Linked DNA regions of Homo sapiens: regions 1 and 2 are each linked to region 3. Evidence: promoter capture Hi-C in 16 types of primary human blood cells and fetal thymus (Javierre and others, 2016). All regions are on one chromosome and are shown on one strand. The core of a region is centred on a gene start or on the middle of the fragment in contact, and the rest is flanking DNA. Distances in the headings are between cores, read along the strand shown. Region 1 overlaps RRAGC (Ras related GTP binding C). Region 2 overlaps GJA9 (gap junction protein alpha 9). Region 3 holds the start of GNL2 (G protein nucleolar 2).

Evidence for each region. Contacts are between HindIII fragments. The CHiCAGO score rates a contact against its expected background, and 5 or more counts as called.
Region 1: a contact is called between a fragment that was not itself captured here and the fragment with the promoter of GNL2 in region 3, in 1 of 17 cell types (total B cells). The highest score is 9.5, in total B cells.
Region 2: a fragment that was not itself captured here is called in contact with the fragment with the promoter of GNL2 in region 3 in 1 of 17 cell types (neutrophils); the score reaches 6.0 in neutrophils.

What each region holds. Positions count from the first base shown.
Region 1 is chr1:38,855,019-38,858,765 of GRCh38, reverse strand. RRAGC (Ras related GTP binding C) reads left to right here. Exons shown (of 7, transcript NM_022157.4): 2 at 1,684-1,887; 3 at 2,859-3,058. Among named protein-coding and RNA genes, the nearest start is that of RRAGC, 2.9 kb to the left of the region's middle. The HindIII fragment of the contact is 1,043 bases long and covers 1,330-2,372 here.
Region 2 is chr1:38,875,298-38,879,229 of GRCh38, reverse strand. It overlaps GJA9 (gap junction protein alpha 9), which reads left to right. Exons shown (of 2, transcript NM_030772.5): 2 at 3,037-3,932. The coding sequence starts at 3,132. RRAGC-DT (RRAGC divergent transcript) reads right to left here. Exons shown (of 2, transcript NR_186075.1): 2 at 3,004-3,289. The region is part of intron 1 of GJA9-MYCBP (GJA9-MYCBP readthrough); the gene reads left to right. Among named protein-coding and RNA genes, the nearest start is that of MYCBP, 3.9 kb to the right of the region's middle. The HindIII fragment of the contact is 8,897 bases long and covers 1-3,932 here.
Region 3 is chr1:37,593,933-37,597,793 of GRCh38, reverse strand. It overlaps GNL2 (G protein nucleolar 2), which reads left to right and starts at 1,857. Exons shown (of 16, transcript NM_013285.3): 1 at 1,857-2,035. The coding sequence starts at 1,972. RefSeq lists enhancers at 1,939-2,128, 2,299-2,358. The HindIII fragment of the contact is 6,511 bases long and covers 1,618-3,861 here.

The DNA of each region.
Region 1 (3,747 bases), core at 602-3,101, 1.3 Mb before region 3:
GTTTTCACTTTTGGGCCTTCATGAACAAATGGAGGGCTGTACACGTTTGTTTGTTTATGTTTTTGAGACGGAGTCTCTCGCTCTGTCGCCCAGGCTGGAGAATGCAGTGGTGCAATCTCGGCTCACTGCAACCTCCACCTCCCTGGTTCAAGTAATTCTCCCGCCTCAGCCTCCCGAATAGCTGGGATTACAGGCGCGCGCCACCACGCCCGGCTAATTATTGTATTTTTAGTAGAGACGGGGTTTCACCATGTTGGCCAGGGTCATCTCGAACTGCTGACCTCAAGTGATCATCCGCCTTGGCCTCCCAAAGTGCTGGGATTACAGGTGTGAGTCACCACGCTGGCCTACACTGTTTAGTGAGGGTTAAATAGAGGCAAGGTTGACTTCCTCCATCAGCCAAACCCATTATACGCGGAGTGAGCTGGTAATAAAACTAGTATCAGCAGGCACCTGGTCTTTTCACCTCTCCACTCTGTTGCAAAGGCCTATCCAAAATAAATCTGTGATTTTTTTTTCTTTCTGAATCTGTGATATTTTGTAGATGGGATCTTTTTAAAAAGCAGCGTTCTTCCAGGTTTGCTGGAGTACTGTGTTTTATTTACCTTGATTTTCACCTCTACAGCAAAACTTGGGTACGTTGACTGTAGGTTTTTAGTAAACTAATTTCAGTTATTCACATTTGTTACTGAGAAAACCTTGAGAGTAATTGTTCACTTTTCTCTTCTAGACAGTAAGAGGCAAAGTAGTTTTATGTTAGAACTGTGTAGGTTGTGATTATTGTGATCCTTTTTTTTTTGTTTGTTTGTTATGGAGTCTTGCTCATCGCCCAGGCTGGAGGGCAGTGGTGTGATCTTCACTCACTGCAGCCTCCACCTCCTGGGTTCAAGTGATTCTCCTGCCTCAGCTTCCCAAGTAGCTGGGACTACAGGCGTGCACCACCACGCCCGACTAATTTTGGTATTTTTAGTGGGGATGGGGTTTCACCATATTGGTCAGGCTGGTCTCGAACTCCTGACCTCAAGTGATCCGCCCGCCTCGGCCGCCTAAAGTGCTGGGATTGAAGGCGTGAGCCACCGCACCCGGGCCGATTATTGTGACTCTTAACAATTGCCTTTACGTTTCTTTTCTCATGAGAGCTATCTTTTCCCTGTCAGTCCCCGTGGCCTCCCCCTGGACGTTTTCACTTTCTACTTGGTATAGTTACTGCCCTTCTTAGACTGCAAAGTCAGTGAGGGCAGAGTCCAGTCTGTTTCACTTTTTAAATTACTCCTCAGAGCCTGAGGTAGGCATTCAAGTAATTTTTGAATAAACCAGACTTCTTAAGCTTTAGCTGTAAGACTTTTATAATCTTAAAGCAGATTTTGGTAGAATTAATGTTAGCTTTCCCCCAGAAAAACTAATGGAGGTGATAGAGATTGCTACTATTAGTACTGAGTATGGTGCATAGAACATAGGAGAAAAGATTTAGCTCCAAAATAGATTTAATGGAAATTAATTTGGTGTCTTCTTTTGTCAAAAATAAAGGGATAGTGAATACCAATGGATTCACCATTCAGTTTCTACTTTTCAAAAAAAATTTTTTTTTGTGGGATCAAATGTTTAAATGTTAAACCAGGGTGGAATTTTAAATTTAAATTCTGAAGTTTAATAGTCATAAAATTGCCTGTTTTCTTTTAACAGGTGGTGTTTCATAAGATGTCACCCAACGAGACCCTCTTTTTGGAAAGTACCAACAAGATTTATAAGGATGACATTTCCAATAGCTCCTTTGTGAATTTCCAGATATGGGATTTTCCTGGGCAAATGGACTTTTTTGACCCAACCTTTGACTATGAGATGATCTTCAGGGGAACAGGAGCATTGATATACGTCATTGACGCACAGGTAGTCAGTAATGTGTTTACTCCTCTTTCCTGGTGGGAAAAAGATGTAGAAACAAAGGAAAGTTGTTTATCTTCTTTGTCATGTGGTTGCAGCTTATCTCTTTGGCAGTAGATTCCCTAACAGTGTAAGAGATGCAGTTGCAGAGTGCTTTGGGAGCAGACATGCATTGTGCAGGTACAGAATATCAGATGATTAGGAGATATGGTTTACATCCTTGAGTCCTAGTTGATGAGCAGCTAACATTGGCTTTCCACTTTTATTGGTTGCCATATTTTATAATAATTTTATAATAATAGTGATGTTATTCCCTGAAAATATCCCATCCCATAACATAAAGAGGAATATGAGAACTGAGTCAGTAGATATTAGAGTGAATAGTTTACTTAATTGTCAAAATTGAGTTTAGCTCAACAAACATTTATGGAGGGCCTAGCATGTGGCAGTCAGTGAGATGAATGGGGCAAGTCCCTATCCTTTAAGAAGCTTACTTTTTATAAGCTTAAGCATTAGTTAAGAATGCTTTCTGAGTGATAGGCTCTACAGAGGGTGCCTTCACGTACAGGACCTAATTAATTTAAGCTTCACAATATTGTTAGGTAGGTATTGTAATTCTGATCTTACAGATGAGAAAACTGAGATCAGAGTTTAAGCAGCTTGCTTAAAGTGACACACTGAATAAATGGCAGAGCTGGGATTACTTAAAAAAATTATGTTGGGAAAAAATGTTCATATCATTTTTTTCTTTCTTAAATTAATATTAAAAATTACAAGCATTAACTTGGTAATTGAATTTTTTTATCTTGAGACAATTGAAGAGTTATTTAGTAGTATAGTATATTTGAATGTTTGAATATTGATGATAATTAGGATAGTATTTTTCTGTGGTTGGGGAAAGAGGTGGTTTGAGGCTTTAACTCATTACTTGGCTTTTGTAAGATTTATTTTAAAAAATATTTTGTTCTGACTTACAGGATGACTACATGGAGGCTTTAACAAGACTTCACATTACTGTTTCTAAAGCCTACAAAGTTAACCCAGACATGAATTTTGAGGTTTTTATTCACAAAGTTGATGGTCTGTCTGATGATCACAAAATAGAAACACAGAGGGACATTCATCAAAGGGCCAATGATGACCTTGCAGATGCTGGGCTAGAAAAACTCCATCTTAGGTAACAACATGTGTGTTTGATATGAAAGCCCTGAACAAGGTGTAAATGTATTCCCATCTCTGTCATTACAAACACCATAGCTTTCTGCTACCTGTGTGCCCTTTGCCACATCTTTTATGTTTTTGATCTTGTTGTTGAATTCCAGGCTGTCTGGGGAGCCTGATATTGAGAAATTACCCACTTTTTGCGTTTTCCTGGAGATTGAAGTCATGTGAAGTGTTTCCACTGGTGCTTTTCCAAATTCATCTCAAGAGACTGGAGTCAGGCTGTTTCTTCATGGCATAAATCTGCTTTGGGACTCCTTCCTCTTGGTTTCATTACTTTTCCCCGCCTTGCATCAGTGAAGTGAATCTGTCACATTTGTTGTGGAAGTCTTTAGCTTGAGTCTTAGACAGTATCTTTCTCAGTAGGAACAGCCTTATACAGAGAGTGCACTTTCAAATCTGGACTGACTCTTTTTATTTTTCATTTTTATTTTTCCTGCTGGCTCCCTTCCACCTCCCCCCTGGACTGACTGTAATATATCTTAGCTTTTAAAACACTTTATACTTTTATGAAACTCTATAAAGTTTGGCTTAGGTGGGTTTATCTTATAAATGTGCATAAGGCTGCTATTAAATTTAGAGGACTATTGGTTTGTAACTACTGTTAAGAAATTATTATTAAATAATACCTACTTGATAGGATTG
Region 2 (3,932 bases), core at 1,126-3,625, 1.3 Mb before region 3:
CCAACCTTAATATGCAATCTGCCGGCAAATAATCCAAGCAGCTAAATTATAACTTGCCCCACTGCTTCCTTCAAGAGAGCAGCTATATGTCTTAAATAGGTCAAATACTGCTACAGTGAAAGTTTCCATAATACTGCCACCATACCAGTGAACAATCTATTGCAAGTAATATCTATAATGAGATTCTGGTACCATAAGGCCGGGCGCAGTGGCTCACGCCTGTAATCCCAGCACTTTGGGAGGCCGAGGCAGGTGGATCACCTGAGGTTGGGAGTTCGAAACTAGCCTGACCAATATGGAGGAACCCCATCTCTACTAAAAATACAAAATTAGCTGGGCATGGTGGCGCATGTCTGTAATACCAGCTACTCTGGAGCCTGGGGCAGGAGAATCACTTGAACCTGGGAGGTGGAGGTTGCGGTGAGCCGAGATTGTGCCATTGCACTCCAGCCTGGGCAACAAGAGGGAAACTTCGTCTCAAAAAAAAAAAAAAAAAAAAGATTCTGGTACCATAAAATAGTTGAGAATTTTTGGAGTTCTTTTTGTTTTCTGAGACAGAGTTTCTGCTCTTGTCGCCAAGGCTGGAGTGCAATGGCGCGATCTTGGCTCACCGCAACCTCTGCCTCCCAGGTTCAAGTGATTCTCCTGCCTCAGCCTCCTGAGTAGCTGGGGTTACAGATGCCTGCCACCACACCCAGCTAATTTTTTGTATTTTTGTAGAGACAGTGTTTCACCATGTTGGCCAGGCTGGTCTCGAACTCCTGACCTCAGGTGATCCGCATCGGCCTCCCAAAGTGCTGGGATTACAGGTGTGAGCCACTGTGCTGGGCTTGAAGTTCATTTTAACGTAAGAATTTACAAAATTTGGGCTGGGCGCGGTGGCTTACTATGGGAGGCCGAGGCGGGTGGATCACTCAAGGTTCAGGAGTTCAAGACCAGCCTGGCCAACATGGTGAAACCCCGTCTCTACTAACAATACAAAAATTAGCCAAGCGTGGTGGCACTTGCCTGTAGTCTCAGCTACTTGGCAGGCTCAGGCACGAGAATCACTTGAACCTGGGAAGTGGAGGTTGCAGTGGGCTGAGATCCTGCCACTGCACTCTAGTCTGGGCAACAGAGTGAGACTCTGTCTCCCCCCACCAAAAAAAAAGAAAAAAAGTATACTTTTTCATAGTAAAGTATAATAAGTACTTTATACATATTCATAAATATTACTGAGATGAATTTCTGAAAATGTTCACCAATTGCCAGGAAGAAACCAGAATTTATTTCAAATTTATTTCAATTTGGATTAAAAAAACTAATCTAAATTCCTATGACAGCCAGATCTGTTTCCTCTGGTTTCACTGAATGCCATATCTTACTGAATTATCAAATGAAGCATATTCGTTTTCCTATGTGTATAAATGAGATTTAAAAATCACTGACTTTTTGACCGGGCACGGTGGCTCATGCCTGTAATCCTGGCACTTTGGGAGGCTGAGGCGGGTGGATCACGAGGTCAGGAGATCGAGATCATCCTGGCCAACATGGTGAAACCCCGTGTCTACTAAAATACAAAAAATTATCCCGGGGGGTGTTGGCAGGCGCCTGTAATCCCAGCTACTCAGGAGGATGAGGCAGGGGAATCGCTTGAACCCAGGAGGCGGAGGTTGCAATGCGCCGAGATTGCGCCACTGCACTCCAGCCTGGCGACAGAGCAAGACTCTGTCCCAAAAGAAAGAAAGAAAGAAAAAAAAATCACTGACTTTTCAAGCCAGTAATGGCATGTTGGGGAAAAAGAAATTGACTTTGTTATAACTTTTATATCAAATAATCTTAATAAATAAGGTTAAGATCAGGTTACTAGTTTTAGAAACCTTTCCAAAAGTTCTGTTGAAAAACAACAATAGGCTGGGCATGGTGGCTCACGCCTGTAATCCCAGCACTTTGGGAGGCCGAGGTGGGCAGATCACCTGAGGTCAGGAGTTCGAGACCAGCCTGGCCAACATGGAGAAACATCATCTCTACTAAAAATACAAAATTATCCGGGCATGGTGGTGCATGCCTGTAATCACAGCTACTCAGGAGGCTGAGGCAGGAGAATCGCTTGAACCCAGGAGGTGGAGGTTGCGGTGAGCTGAGATCATGCCATTGCACTCCAGCCTGGGCTACAGAGTGAGACTCCGTCTCAAAAAAAAAAAAAAAAAGAATATAATTTTAGGCCATGCGCATTGGCTCATGCCTGTAATCCCAGCACTTTGGGAGGCCGAGGTGGCCAGATCATCTGAGGTCAAGGGTTTGATCTCAGCTCACTGCAACCTCTGCCTTCCAGGTTCAAGCGATTCTCTTGCCTCAGCCTCCCGAGTAGCTGGGACTACAAGCGCCTGCCACCACGCCTGGCTAATTTTTGTATTTTTAGTAGAGGCGGGGTTTTACCATGTTGGCCAGGCTGGTCTGGAACTCCTGACCTCAAATGATCCACCCACCTTGGCCTCCCAAAGTGTTGGGATTACAGGTGTGAGCCACCCCGCCCAGCCTATATTCTTAATAGAGAATATATACACTCCTCCTCCAGGTATCATGTTTTTTTCATTGTATTGTGATGTCTAAATATAAGTGATTTTAAATTCCTGACATTTAAGTATATTATTGGTAACAGATTCACACTTTGGCCAGGTGTGGTGACCCACACCTGTAATTCCCACACTTTGGGAGGTGAAGGCAAGAGGATCACTTGAGTCTAGGAGTTTAAGACTAGCTGCAGCAATAGAGTGAGACCCTGTCTCTACAAAAAAATAAAAAAAATTATCTGGGTGTAGTTGCACACACCTGCAGTCCCAGCTACTCAGGAGGCTGAGAGGGGAGATGATCGCTTGAGTCTGGGAGGTTGAGGCTGCAGGGAGTTGTGGTTGCAACACTGTACTCCAGCCTGGGCAACAGAGGGAGACTCTGTCTCAACAAACAAACAAACAAAGAAAAAACCCCACAGCTATCTAGGGAAAAAGTAAAGCAACCAGCATATAGAAGTGACATATTGTTATATTTTCACCATAGGTTTGCTTTAAGAAATAGTGCTCCCTTCAGAATGGAAGAATTTATCTGCCTCTTATTTGATGTGGATCAGAGCTAAGATGGCTGACTAAATAAACATGGGGGACTGGAATCTCCTTGGAGATACTCTGGAGGAAGTTCACATCCACTCCACCATGATTGGAAAGATCTGGCTCACCATCCTGTTCATATTTCGAATGCTTGTTCTGGGTGTAGCAGCTGAAGATGTCTGGAATGATGAGCAGTCTGGCTTCATCTGCAATACAGAACAACCAGGCTGCAGAAATGTATGCTACGACCAGGCCTTTCCTATCTCCCTCATTAGATACTGGGTTCTGCAGGTGATATTTGTGTCTTCACCATCCCTGGTCTACATGGGCCATGCATTGTACCGACTGAGAGTTCTTGAGGAAGAGAGGCAAAGGATGAAAGCTCAGTTAAGAGTAGAACTGGAGGAGGTAGAGTTTGAAATGCCTAGGGATCGGAGGAGATTGGAGCAAGAGCTTTGTCAGCTGGAGAAAAGGAAACTAAATAAAGCTCCACTCAGAGGAACCTTGCTTTGCACTTATGTGATACACATTTTCACTCGCTCTGTGGTTGAAGTTGGATTCATGATTGGACAGTACCTTTTATATGGATTTCACTTAGAGCCGCTATTTAAGTGCCATGGCCACCCGTGTCCAAATATAATCGACTGTTTTGTCTCAAGACCAACAGAAAAGACAATATTCCTATTATTTATGCAATCTATAGCCACTATTTCACTTTTCTTAAACATTCTTGAAATTTTCCACCTAGGTTTTAAAAAGATTAAAAGAGGGCTTTGGGGAAAATACAAGTTGAAGAAGGAACATAATGAATTCCATGCAAACAAGGCAAAACAAAATGTAGCCAAATAC
Region 3 (3,861 bases), core at 608-3,107:
CCCTTGGGGCAATAAAAGCGAAGCTTGAGGGACAGAAGGTATTTCCAGCTCTAGCCTATGACATGGCCTGCTTTTGCTCTAAAGAGAATGTTTTGGGGTTTGTTTCAAACTCAGAGAAATAAAGACTCAATCATCCCCTGCTCAATTAGAATACCTCACTTTATAACAAATTGTTTGTTTTTATGAAATGAGCTACACTGCATGAATCCACCCTTCCTCTTGCCTAACCATCTCTTCTTTGGCCTATCCAGAGGGTACAAAGATGGCCATTTTCTGACAATTTGAGGTACCAAAAAAGAGAGAGGGACCAGGCGAGGTGGCTCACACTTGTAATCCCAGCACTTTGGGAGGCTGAGGCAGGTGGATCACCTGAGGTCAGGAGTTTGAGACCAGCCTGGCCAATGTGGTGAAAGCCCGTCTCTACTAAAAATACAAAAATTAGCTGGGCATGATACCATGCGCCTGTAATCTCAGCTACTTGGGAGGCTGAGGCAGGAGAATTGCTTGAACCCGGGAGGTGGAGGTTGCAGTGAACCGAGACCGGGCCACTGCACTCCAGCCTGGGCAACAAGAGCGAGACTCCGTCTCAAAAAACAAAAACAAAAACAAACAAACAAAAAATAAATTGTAAAAAGAGAGAGGGCTTCTTGGTTCAAACACTGGCATCTAGACACTTTATTCTGGCTAGTAGAAACAGAAATCACTGGGTCTTAATGCCTTCCTTCATCCTCAAGGCAAGAGACATTCCCATCTACTCATTCTTTCACTTAATGAATATTTTTTGAGTCCTTTGTTTCAGATGCTATTCAAGTCTTAAAGACACAGCAGTGAACAAATTAACAAGGTCCCTGCTTTTAAGAATCTTACATTCTAGTTTGGGGGAAGCAGCCAATAAACTTGTAAAAAAAATTCAACTAGTGATAAATGCCATGAAATAAATAAAACAGAATACTGTAACAGAATAACTGTGAAAGGGTGAAAGGTGGCTGATTTAGACAAATTAGACAGGAATGAGTTCTCACAGCAGGAAGGGTCACCAGATAAAATACAGAACGTACAGTTACATTTGAATTTCAGGCAAACGATGAATACTTTTTTAGTCTAAGTATTTTCCAGGCACTGTTGGAGGTGTACTAAAGAAAAGTATTCATTTTTTTTCTCTGAAATTCTAATTTAATTTGGTGTCCTGTATTTCTATTTGCTAATTCTTGCAGGCCTACCAATAGGTGATATTTGAGCTTAGGATTGAATGACAGCTATGCAAAGATTCTGGGAAAGAGTGATTCAGGCAGAGAGAATATCCAGTGTAAATGTCAGAATAACCAGAGGGAGGGACGTACACATGAGATTAGATAAATAGGCAGGCAGGGGCCAGATCACAGAATCCTGTAGGGATGGCAAAAAGTTTGAATCAATCTCTGTCTCTGTCTGTTTCTCCCTTCTCCCTTCCCCTACCTCTCATTCTAAGAGTGATGATAAGCCACTGGAGTTGTAAGGAAGAGAATGACACCTCCTAACGGATATTTGGCTGCTGTGTGGTCGGCAACTTTTGGAAGGACTTAGAAGACAAATTCAGAAGACAAACTTAAGCTTGTGCCACTGGCCTGGGAAGAAGCTTCTTTATTCGGAGGTGGACCCAACTGGGAGCTCTGGCCGCGCGTTCAGGTTAACTAGGCGGTTGCTATGAACGGGCAGCTTGGCGGTTGCTAGGGCTGGAGCGGGCTGGGGCTCCACGCAGGGCGACGCCTAGGCGGCTGGAGCGGGGGCGGAGCCAGGAGGGTGACGGCGCGCGCCGCGCGTTCACAGGAAGTCGCTCTGAGGCCGAGAGGGACGCGAGCGGAAGTGACGTACGTCGTGCACACGTGGTCCGGCGTGGTTCAGGCGGGTGTCTTCGGCCGGGCTTGGGAACATAAAAGTTTGTTTCACCACGTAAGCCGGACCTCGCACTCCGGTCCCGGTCTCGTCGCCAAGATGGTGAAGCCCAAGTACAAAGGACGGAGCACCATCAACCCGTCCAAGGCCAGCACAAACCCAGGTACAGGCGGCAGGGCTGATCGAGGGTGGAGCTTGGAGGAAGTATAGGGAAGGGCTCCGAGGAGCACTGGAGGGGAAGGAGGGTTACTCGAGTGGCATTGCTTAGAATGACTACGAGCGGGGTGGCTGTTGGGGATGAAAAGGGAAAAAGGAAAGCAATATTTGTGGTGGTTTCTTCTCAGGGGGGAACTGAGGAGGGCTCAGTGCACGCCTGGCAGGCCAAAGTGTAGTCAACTGGTCTGAAGTCAAGGAAAGTGAACACTCAGGCTGACAGCCTTGGGTCCTCTCCAGTTGAGAGATGCAGAGAAAGTCAGATTAAAAATGGTGTAGGTTGACCCTTCGGGCCTTTTACACGTGATCATACTTGCCTGCCACCTTAGCTTTGACCTTTAAAATGAGAAAGGGCTTATAGTTTTGGCCCTTGGAATTATTCTATCTGGTAAAGTGCTTAGAGAACCCTACAAAGAAGTCAGTATGATCATTGCAGTAAGGCTGTTTAGGAGATGTGTGTAAGTTTTGGCGAGGTTCCACCTGTACGATTAACAAGACATCCTATGGGAGAGTTCCTTCCATTCAGGTTTAATTAATAAAACTTTGTTTTAAAATATGGTTTAGAATTTTTGACAATTTTAATGCAAGTTGAATGTTTATTCCGGATTGATAATAAATTATTCACTTTGCACAAACTGGAATCTCAGAATGTTAGACCCCAAAAGGCCCTTAGAGATTATGATTTTACAGGTGAAGAGACTGAATCAAAATACAGGAAGTGGCCTGTCATAATTGCAACAGTTAGTGAGTAGTAGTAGAGCCGCCAGTTTCTACTGTTAGAGACTGTTAGGAGAGCCAATGGGCTGTGGTTTCAGCCTGTCTTCTACTGTATCACTTCAGGACCAGACAGGTGATTTAAGGGGCTCCTGGCCAGGTGTGGTGGCTCACGCCTGTAATCCCAGCACTTTGGGAGGCCGAGGCGGTCGGATCACCCGAGGTCAGGAGTTCAAGACCAGCCTGACCAACATGATGAAACCCCCTCTCTACAAAAATACAAAGATTAGCCGGGCATGATGGCGGATGCCCGTAATCCCAGCTACTCGGGAGGCTGAGGTGGAAGAATTGCATGAACCGGGGAGGTGGAGGTTGTAGTGAGCTGAGATCGCGACACTGCACTCCAGCCTGGGTGACAGAGCACGACTCTGTCTCAAAAAAAAGATAATAATAATGAATAAATGAATAAATAGGTAAATAAAGGGCTCCCAAAATGAGAAGCTAGGCTAGTATTACCCTATTCGTTTGTCCTTCTCTTTCTCTTTGAGATGTAAGGCAAGAATTGCTGTGTTGATTAAACAAAAATCAAACATTAAGAAAGTAAGAACACATATATCAAAATTATAGTCTCCATGGTGCCTTGCATGGAGCAGGCACTCAATATTTGTTAAACTGAGACACAGAGGTAGGTATCTTCGTGGTTAAGACCATAGATGGTGATCAAATGCTCATGTACAAATTCTGGCTCTGCCATTTAGTAACGGTTTGACCTTGGGCAAGGTGTCTGACCACTGTGCCTCAGTTTCTCACTCCGCAGCATGGGGATAATATATCTATAGGATTATTGTATAGATTAAATCAGATGATGCCTATAATTTGGATAACACAGTGCCATCATAAGTGCTCAAAAATATTAGCTATTCTTCTCAAATACAATCCTATCGAAGATCAAAGATTGGGTCAGCTTTGTCATACCATGTAGCTTCAAGTACTAATTATTGGAGCAACATATGGAGAAAGTAGAGATTTTTGTGGTTGGTGGCTTCTTACCTAATTTGGGTG